2 separate regions of the Homo sapiens genome follow, and region 1 is linked to region 2. Evidence: promoter capture Hi-C in 16 types of primary human blood cells and fetal thymus (Javierre and others, 2016). All regions are on one chromosome and are shown on one strand. The core of a region is centred on a gene start or on the middle of the fragment in contact, and the rest is flanking DNA. Distances in the headings are between cores, read along the strand shown. Region 1 has its middle 7.5 kb from the start of DVL3. Region 2 holds the start of ABCC5-AS1 (ABCC5 antisense RNA 1).

What was found. The method cuts DNA at HindIII sites, captures the fragments that hold promoters and counts their contacts. A CHiCAGO score of 5 or more calls a contact.
Region 1: a contact is called between a fragment that was not itself captured here and the fragment with the promoter of ABCC5-AS1 in region 2, in 1 of 17 cell types (erythroblasts). The highest score is 5.2, in erythroblasts.

What each region holds. Positions count from the first base shown.
Region 1 is chr3:184,145,361-184,150,429 of GRCh38, reverse strand. It overlaps the pseudogene RPS3P3. Among named protein-coding and RNA genes, the nearest start is that of DVL3, 7.5 kb to the left of the region's middle. RefSeq lists a silencer at 5,039-5,069. The HindIII fragment of the contact is 3,578 bases long and covers 1,694-5,069 here.
Region 2 is chr3:184,002,274-184,007,593 of GRCh38, reverse strand. ABCC5-AS1 (ABCC5 antisense RNA 1) reads right to left here and starts at 1,256. Exons shown (of 3, transcript NR_046570.1): 1 at 1,133-1,256. All of the region lies in intron 2 of ABCC5 (ATP binding cassette subfamily C member 5), which reads left to right. RefSeq lists a silencer at 528-577. The HindIII fragment of the contact is 257 bases long and covers 1,066-1,322 here.

The DNA of each region.
Region 1 (5,069 bases), core at 2,233-4,732, 140 kb before region 2:
TGTAGGGACTGGCTGGGGCATGGCAGATGGCTCTGGCTTCCCACCCTTCTGTTCTGAGATGGGGGTGGTGGGCAGTATCTCATCTTTGGGTTCCACGATGCTCACGTGGTCAGGCAGGGGCTTCTTAGGGCCAGTCTTACCAGTTGGGTCCCAGGGCAGCATGATCTTCACCTTGATGCCCAGCACACCCTGTCTGAGCAACACGTGGCACACAGCAGTGCCAACGTAGTAGTTAATAGGGTCTCCACTGTGGATCGTCAGGCCATCCACAAACTTCATGGATTTAGCCCTCTGTCCTCGGAGTTTCCCAGACGCCATGACCTTGCAGCCTTTGGCCCCACTCTCCATGATGAACCGCAGCACACCATAGCAGGCCCTCCACACAGCAAGCCCTCCTAGGAGTTTGTAACGCAGAGACTCTGCCTGGGCAATGGCACACAGACCTCTAGTGGCAACCTTTTCAGCATAAAGCTCTACACTGCCCTCTGGAAAGCCAAACCTCTTCTGAACTATAGCAGTCAGTTCCCGAATCCGTCAGCCCTTCTCACCAGGAATATTCTGTGTTCTGGTGGCTAAGATAATGATTTCTGTCCTGGTTGGTGTAACTTGCATCTCAACTCCAGAGTAGCCATCTTCAGCCAGCTCCTGAGTAAGAAACTCATTCAGTTCAGCTTTGAAGATGTCATCAGTGACAAACATCCTCTTCTTGGAAATTTGCACAGCCATCTTGCCGCCACGCTCCACTGAAAGGAAAGGCCTAATTTTGTATTTTTAATAGACACAGGGTTTCACCACATTGGCCAGTCTGGTATCAAACTCCTGGGCTTAAGTTATCCTCTGCCAACCTTGGCCTCCCAAAGTGCTGGGATTACAGGTGTGAGTCACATCACACCCAGCCTTTTTTTTTTTTTTTTGGAGGCAAGGTCTTGCTCTGTCTTCCTGGCTGGAGTGCAGTGGTGTGATCATAGCTCACTGCAGCCTCGAACTGGGCACAAGTGATCCTCCCACCTCAGTCTCCCGAGTAGCTGGGACTACAGGCACACACCACCACCCTTGGCTGATAATTTAAAATTTTTTGTCGAGATGGGATCTTGCTATGTTGCCCAGCTGGTCCCAAATTCCTGGCATCAAGCAATCCATCTGCCTTGGCCTCCCAAAGGGCTGGGATTACAGGCATGAGCCACCACGTCCAGCCGATTTTTCCTATTCTGTTTCCGCAGCCCAGTAGATGATTTTGGGCCTTATGGATTGATCCTTTACTACTTTTTTTTTTTTTTTGGATAGATAATATATTCATGATTCAAGATTCAAGAAGTATGTAAGAATGGAAATACAGTGAAACGTTACCCTGCTATTTGGTCCTCGAATCCTCCAATTCTCAAGAGAAGGAATTAGTTTACTTATTTTTAATTTCTAAGAACTCTTTCTTCTCCAATTCTTCCTTTTTAAAGTACTTCATAGACACAATATCTTTTCTTTGAGTTTTGAGAATAGTTATTGTAGCTTTTTCCCCATGAAGTTTTCAGAAAGCTCCCTACTTTGTTATTGTTTCCTTGGTTTCAATTTTCTATTTGTTTGTTTTGGTCTTTCATATTGGAAGGTTACTCAGATGTTTAATGGTCCTTTGCTGTCTATTCATATTTAACAGTGAGATACCAAAAAGTGGATTGGAAGCTCAGTCTATTTACAAGCTTTATTATTAATGAATAGGCTTCACTGTAGGGTGATCATGTGGGGGGAAAGCTGACATTTTGTTGTTGAAGAAACCAAAAATGTCAGTGTCAGTATGCATAGGCATTTTTTTCCCTGCAGTTGTTTCTTTTCATACTGGAGGTTCTGTCAGTGTGTGCTGATGTTGAGTCTCACCGCTCATATATTTTCACTTAATTCTTCATTTTCAATCTAATACCTCACCTCTATCCCCACTATGCCTGCTGCTGAATGCAGAGGCTCTGATAGTTTAAGTTCCCCTGGACATTCTGAAATTTCATGGGCTTTTTCATTCATTATGCTGGGCACTCATGGACAGTTGGTCTGGAAACTTGTGACCTTTGGGCTTAGGAAACCTTAAGTCTATCTTTGCTAACTTCCTCCCTACCATTTCTCCAGAGACGGAATCTCCCATTTTATGCAAGGGAGTAGGGGTAATCACTTGGCTGGATCAGATGAGGTTGGGACTTGGTGGGGCTTTTTCTTATACAGATCATCGTGTAATCTCCTTCCACCCCACCCCTAGTTCTCAGCGTCAGTCCATACCCTCCTCTGAGGTGCTGAACCTTTTATGGGTTCAGAAGGGCACATTGGCTTACTTCTTGCCATTAACTCCCTCAGCAGGTAGAACCCAACTCATTCTACTCTGTTAAGTGACTGTTGACTGTTCTGTTTTTCATCTTCCAAAATGTTGGCATCTCTCATTCATTGTCACCTCCTATTTTCCTTATCACTGGGTCATGTGGCTTTATTATTATATTTTTTGAGAGTTTCGCTCTTGTCACCCAGGTTGGAGTGCAATGGCATGATCTCGGCTCACTGCAACCTCCGCCTCCTGGGTTCAAGCAATTCTCCTTCCTCAGCCTCCTGAGTAGCTGGGATTACAGGTGCCCCCCACCATGCCCGGCTAAACTTTTGTGTTTTTTGGTTTTTTTTTTGAGATGAAGTCTCGCTCTTGTCCCCCAGGCTGGAGTGCAATGGCGCGATCTCGGCTCACTGCAACCTCCACCTCCCAGATTCAAGCGATTCTCCTTCCTCAGCCTCCTGAGTAGCTGGGATTACAGGCACCTGCCACCAGGCCCAGCTAATTTTTCTATTTTTAGTAGAGATGGGGGTTTCATCATGTTGGCCAGGCTGGTCTCGAACTCCTGACCTCAGGGGATCCACCCACCTTGACCTCCCAAAGTGCTGGGATTACAGGCATAAGCTACCACGCCTGGCTTTTTTGTATTTTTAATAGAGACGGGGGTCCACTATGTTGGCCAGGGTGGTCTTGAACTCCTGACCTCAGGTGATTCACCTGCCTCGGCCTCCCAAAGTGCTGGGATTACAGGTGTGAGCCACTGAGCCCAGCCAGCACGTGCCTTTTTAAAATAATTCCTTTACTGGTATTTCAATAGAATTTTTGGAGGGGGCATAAAGGCTCATGTGTTTAATTTTCCGTATTTAACTGGAAAGTTTTTGTTTTGCTTTTAATGCATGCTTCCAGCCTCTTCTATTTTTTAGGCCACTCCAGCATCAAATTTCTGTAAAGCCTTCCCTAATCACCCTAACTGGAAGTAATCTCTCTTTCTGAAAAAGCTCTGTAGACTACTTCTGATTTCTGCTATACATTCAGTACAGATACAGGGATGTCTCACTGTACTAGGTCCATGCCATAATGCCAGAATCTTCATACTAGACACTAGATCCTATACCTAACAAGACAGAAACTGAGATTTACTAGAAAATTAAGCCAAACCCTGGCCAGCCTGTCTTTTCCTTTTCCAGTGATGCCTTCATACCCACAAGCTGACTTCAGTCAGCCCATCCTCAGTTTATATCCTTTTTTTTGAGACAGAGTTTCACTTGTCGCCCAGGCTGGAATGCAATAGTGTGATCTCAGCTCACTGCAACCTCCGTCTCTTGGGTTCAAGCGATTCTCCTGCCTCAGCCTCCCGAGCGGCTGAGATTACAGGCACCCACCACCACGCCTGGCTAATTTTTGTATTTTTAGTAGAGACAGGGTTTCACCATGTTGGCCAGGCTTGTCTCAGACTCCTGACCTCAGCTGATCTGCCCACCTCAGCCTCCCAAAGTGCTGGGATTACAGGCGTAAGCCACCGCGCCTAGGCCAGTTTATGTCTTTCTATCCAACTAAAATGAATAAAGGCAACCATTTGTTCTGTAACATCTGGGACGGTAGGGATGGGGGGGTAGAGCATCACTTGTTACAACAGTCACATTAGCCACCGTTTAAGTACCACTAAAGGAAATTATTATTATTATATTGTTTTGAGGCAGGGTCTCGCTCCATCACCAAGGCTGGAGTGCAGTGGCACAATCTCGGCTCACTGCAACCTCCGCCTCCCAGGTTCAAGCAATTCTCCCTGCTTCAGCCTCCTGAGTAGCTGGGATTTCAGGCGCCTGCCACAATGCCCAGCTAATTTTTGTATTTTTGTAGAGATGGGGTTTCGCTATGTTGGTCTCGAACTCTTCGCCTCAGGTGATCCGCCTGCCTCAGCCTCCCAAGGTGCTGGGATTACAGGCGTGAGCCACTGCACGCGGCCAGAATTGTTGACTCACTCTATATGAAGACAAGGAACTCAAAAAGAAAAGACAGAAAGGCATGTCTCTTTTGGTTAAGGTTAAAGCAATACAGCAAAGTAACAAGCTCCAGGTCAAGAGTCCAATATCACACCTGGCTCTGTCAGTTACTAGCTAGGGAAGCTCTGTGAGCTTCAGGCACCTTATCTGAAAATGGGGATAAGACTTCATGGGGCTCATGTGAGGATTAAATGAAACAATATGTGAAAACTGCTTGCCTGTCACATAGTAAACACTCTCAAGGGAAAGCACCCTTCACATGGCCTTCCTGTGTTCTTGGGACCTCCATTACTGGCTCTGGGTTATATTTGTCTGTGGGGCCAATTTTCCCTTCACTGAAACACAATACGCTGAAGGACAGAGTTCTGGATTCTGAGGGTCAAGTCCTTAGCTTTACCCCTCAAGAGTCATGTGACCTTGAGCTGATTTCCTTATTTCTGATGAAGCGTGGCCCAGCTTCCTGACAGAACGAGTACCAGATCAACTGGAAAAGGCATGTGAAAGGAACTGGCATGTCTAATGGGCTTTACATATGGTTGGCAACATAATCCTCTGGCAGAAAAGTGTTCAAAATGGGACTCTATGGAAACGGGCTTAGGCACACCACCCCAGGATCACAAGTTGGTCCACAGAGGCTGGAAAAGAACCTCCGCCCTCCACTACCCATGAGCCATGGGAAAGGTTAATTAGCAAGGTACCACAGTACCACCTAGTGGCTGGCACACCCGTCCTCCCTCTCCCCCAGGTGTTAAGGAAAGGCTATCATGTGATTC
Region 2 (5,320 bases), core at 7-2,506:
TCAGCCTCTCAAAGTGCTGGGATTACAGGTGTGAGCCACTGCGCCTGGGCATGTGTGTTCTTGAATAATAAGCCAAGGAGTTTGGATTTTAATTGCTTTAAATTAATATTTAAGCAAAAGCAAGACAAAGCTTGTCAGATGCTTTTATGAGCTTTATTTTATTGTGGTGGTGGTTTGTTTTCTTAGTGCTCTCAGGCAAAGGTAAGGGTGCCTTGTTTTTCATTAGCATGTCTAATCTGGGAAAGAAGGAAGAATGGAAAAATAAGCAGAAGTGGGCCGGGCGTGGTGGCTCACGCCTGTAATCTCAGCACTTTGGGAGGCCGAGGCGGGCAGATCACAAGGTCAGGAGATTGAGACCATCCTGGCTAACATGGTGAAACCCTGCCTCTACTAAAAATACAAAAAATTAGCTGGGCATGGTGGCATGCACCTGTAGTCCCAGCTACTCGGGAGACTGAGGCAGGAGAATCGCTTGAACCCGGGAGCCAGAGTTTGCAGTGAGCCGAGATCGCACCACTGCACTCCAGCCTGGGGAACAGCAAGACTCTGTCTCAAAAAAAAAAAAAAAAAAAAAAAAGCAGAAGTAAACTAAAGTTCATGTACCATTATTACTGGCACATGAACTTTAGTTATTTTTTCCCCTTCTCTCAAAAGTGTGTCATTGGTGGGATTTTCTTCCTACCAAATTAGAATATCCTGTGTCTAGGAAAGGTAACAAAGCAAGTATTCATAAAATCCAGGGCTCTTACTTAGTATTTCCTTAGTTCTGTGGTAGGCTGACCCTTTAATCTTGGTTGGAGTTTTCATAATTAATGCTTTGAAATATTTTGGTGAGCTCAAGTTGTATCTTAGGGATCAAAGATGTGGGTCTAATCTCTTACCAGAAATGATTCGAAGATGTATTGTTAGGAAAGAAATATGGGCTCATTATAGAAAATGTACAAAGTGTGTAAAGTTGTAGAAAAAAAGTAACCACCCTTAATTCCTCTACCCAGAGACAGCCATTGTTTTCATAAAATAGTTTTGTCTAGTACATTGTACTTTTAGAGTTTGCTCCTGAAAGCTTTTCTTTACAGACTAAGGACGTGTGAATTTGTCTATGCCCTTGTGTTTTCCAAGTCAAGAGTATTACCTGTGAGTCGGCTTGCTGTTAGGAAGGAGAGCAGGAGGAAGGAGATTAGCATTTTGCAGCTCTGCATTATTTTTCTCTTGATTGATACTCGGTGACTCAGCAGATTTTCTGGACAGGGTTAAGATAAGTAAGAATACCTGCCTTTTTTTTTTTTTTTTTTTCTTCTCTCCCTGTAGGCATCCATAAAGCTTTATGAGGCACAGTAGTCTCTTAGGCGCTGCTGGGTGTGACACCGTATCTGGTCTGGTGCCAGGTGTTGGTCTCCAATAGCAGCCCAGAGATCTCCGGCTGAGGTAACAACAGTGTGCGATTGGTGTGGAGCCCAGGTGGCTCTCATGCTTGGTAACTGCATTGACAGCTCGCTGGGGCTCTTGAGGTTGGGCTGCTGCCGGGATCATCAGCTCTCTTATGCCGTTTGCTGCAAGACTGCCGCGGCTTTCCTAGGAAGTGCTGCTTAAGGGAAATAAATATAGCCTGTTGGCATGAGTTAAAGGAACTTTCTGTCAAAGGGGAAGAAAAGTGTTGGAATTAGCTTCCTGTTTTTTTTTTTTTTAAGTACCTAAATCTTTATTTGGTTAAGATAACTTGGAAGTTACAAATGGTTAATGAAAACTTTTTCAATGAAATATTGTTTCCACAGTTAGGTGGGTTTCCGTTAATGCTTTCTTTTTTTTAGTTATTATTATACTTTAAGTTCTAGGGTACATGTACACAACGTGCAGGTTTGTTACATATGTATACGTGTGCCATGGTGGTGGGCTGCACCCATTAACTCGTCATTTACATTAGGTATATCTCCTAATGCTATCCCTCCCCCCTCCCTGTTCATGCTTTTTTTAATGTCTTACCGTTTTTCCCTCTCTTTTAGTCAAAAATAAAAAGGTCAACGCAAAGAAACAGGGACTCCAGAAGGCTTTGCAATGGTTAAACCTGTCATTATTAAACTCACAGACTAATGTGAAGTTAATTTGGTGCACTGAAGTCCACTAATGAGCAGAATTAAATTTATCCTTTTCCTCCCTGCCCCCCTTTTAAGGAGTTAGCCTATTTAGATAATTAGATGTTATATATGTTTTAACTATTTAAGATTATTTTATGAATTAGCTGTTCAAAGAATCAATTGTTACTAGATATCAGATGAGAACTTCCACTTACCAAAGCCTGCTCATGGAGGTAGAAAGCAAGACTGACATGTGTACTTTAAAAGATGGATGGAACCTCAAAGGCCGTCTTGCCCAGTCCCCATTTAGCCTCACCTCTCTGTAGGTGAGGCCCAGGAGAGACACTTACTAGGCAGACTATGCTGGGGCTGGGTGAGCTTCCCAAGGATGTTCTTTCTGGAATTCGGTGGCTCAGAATACAGCACTTGGCTCCTCTTTGAAGCATGATGGCTCTGTTGCCTGTCTCTGGCCCAGTGTGCTGGGCTGCTGAAAAGAGCATGGAACCACCCAGGAGACGCCACGACACTGACAGCTGTACCTGACCTGAGGGTTCAGGATATGTTTTCAAAAGCAAATCTCGCTAAAAAGGATTTGTATGTTATTATGAAATCTATATTTATGTGGTGGAAATAGACACACTCAGGCTTTTAGAGATAAACTACACAGAATGGGTTACAATAAATGCTTATAATTGTTTGGCTTTTTTAAGAATCCTGTTAACTTGACAACCTTCTGTTTACTTTTCTTTGGTATTATGCAGGTATGATATTGAGCAGTCACTTAGTTTTCTTAAATGTTGTGTCTCACAGTAGAAAAATAGCCAAACCACTCAGCCCCTGACCTTTGTGTTTGCTTCTCACGGTGATCAGCAGTTCTGGTCTGCTCTGCAGTATGGTGGTCACATGATGGAACCCAGAAAGCCTTGTACTAAGCATTTAACACACATTGTGTTAGGCACTGGAGGAAGTTTCATTTACAAATTATATTTTGGCCTTTTTTTTTTTTTTTTTTTTTGAGACGGAGTCTCTGTCACCCAGGCTGGAGTGCAGTGGCATGGTCTTGGCTCACTGCAACCTCTGCCTTCTAGGTTCAAGCAATTCTCCTGCCCTCAGTCTCCCAAGTACCTGGGATTACAGGTGTGCACCACCATGCCTGGCTAATTTTTGCATTTTTAGTAGAGACAGGATTTCACCATGTTGGCCAGGCTGGTCTCGAGTCCTGACCTCAAGTGATCCACCTGCCTGGGCCTCCCAAAGTGCTGGGATTATAGGTGTGAGCCACTGTACCTGGCCTTTTTTTTTTTTTTTAGCTAAAGCCTGAAAATCTTGTTGAAGGGATTTTGTCAAATGCAAAAGACCAATATTCACAACTCTCTAAATCAGTGGTTTTCAGGCCAGGCTGAATGTTAAAATCACTTGAAGAATGTTCAACAAATACCAGTGTTGGGGTCCTATTCCAGACCAATTAAATCAGTCTCTGGGATAGAACCCAGACATTGGTATTGTTTTAAAACTCCTCTGGTGATTCTAGTAGGTAGGCAGTGCTGGGAATCTCTAGATCTCATGGAATAAAGTCTGTTCTCTCCCCTCACTCAATGGCTCCAAGTGTTTCCTGTAAATCCCGTTTTACCCCTGTGATTCATTTTCAGTTTAATCCTTTGAAACCTTACCATGCTATTAACAAAGTTAATCTTAGACCCAACATAACAGGAACTTTGAATAAGTTCCTTGGAATTTAGCTTATGAAACAACTGAAAGCCCTCAAATTCCTGGTGATTATGGAGTAATGCTAGATTATCAACTGCAGACAAATACCTGTTTTACTGTGGTGGTGGAGATATGTTTGTGAATTGTATTGCTAGCTGATCATCGGCTTGAGAGTAACATAGCACAGCTACAGATAAGTGAGCTGATGCTCAAGTTAATTCTTTTCTCAGTGTAGTATAGCTGTTGAGTGATAGGACTGAGTTTAGCAGCTTCCCTGACTTGGAATAATAGCTCTTTCTTTTGTATTCTGCTTCTTCCCCATATAGGTTGGGTTCTAGAATTTTGCTGATCCTCTTGACTGAAATGGCTACTATTTGGAAGTTCTTAAGGGAAGAGCTTAAGATGGTCAGGGTTGTGATAACAACCCACTGGGGAGTAAGGATGTGGTGGGAATTGCAGAGGAAACGTGCTTGGTAGGTTTCTTTAACTTGTTGGAGATTAGGAAGGGCGGGAAGGCCTGAAGTCAGCCGGTCTTGGGAGGACATCAGTTTTTGATCTTTTTAAATTTAAAAGTGAATTTTAATTCACTTTTAAATTTAATTTCTAATATTCTGAGTCCCTTAAGAAGTATATCTAGTGGCACAACAGTTCCCCTTAAAAGTTTGTCTTTCTAGATGTTTGTCATAAAGGCTGCGTGGGCCTGGGACATCTGTAGAAATGGTTTTCTTGGCCAGAAGGATGTATTTGAAGAGGCGCCCATTGTCTTGTTTGTCTTAAGGTCTTGTGAATGAGGAGAGGAGAGGAAGACAGTGTTGTGAGATCTGAGGCCTGTTGATTCCGATTGTGCCCCAGATACCGCTTTATTTGAGGGGTGTGCCAGACAGGAGCAGGCAGCCTTTAACCCCCTTGGAAACCGAGGTACCTCTCTGTTGCCAGTTGACACCTGCAGTCTCTGCCTTCAGGAACAACTTGGTTGAATCCTCAGCCCGAGGCTTATTAGGCAGGCTACCCTGCTGTTGTCCGGCCTCCAGGAAGGGATTGGATTGTTCAGACGGGGAACGATTTCTGGCCCCTGGTATCTGTCCCAGAGGCCTCCGTGCAGGGGAAAAGCCCTTGGTTGCCCTGTCAGCAGGCATTTGCTCTGGCAGCCTGTTAAAATGAGATGGGACAGCTGGAGAAGTGGTGGCCATGGGGTGTGATAGGTGCGCTGATTATCTGAGGCCTGAGGATGGCGTTAGCGCCCGCAGAAGCGTCTTTTGCAAGAGCAGATCTGTCTGCTTATGAATCGAATGTTACCTGTTTTTCATACCAGAGGTGTCTATGAATGTGTGTTTCCCTGATCTTTGTTTGAACCTTGACAGAATCTGAATTGCTTTTTGTTATTGTTGTTTTTGTTTTTCTCTTTTTTTTTTTTTTGAGACGGAGTCTGGCTCTGTTGCCCAGGCTGGCGTGCAGTGGTGCGATCTTGGCTCACTGCACCCTCTGCCTCCTTGGTTCAAGCAATTCTCCTGCCTCAGCCTCCTGAGTAGCTGGGATGACAG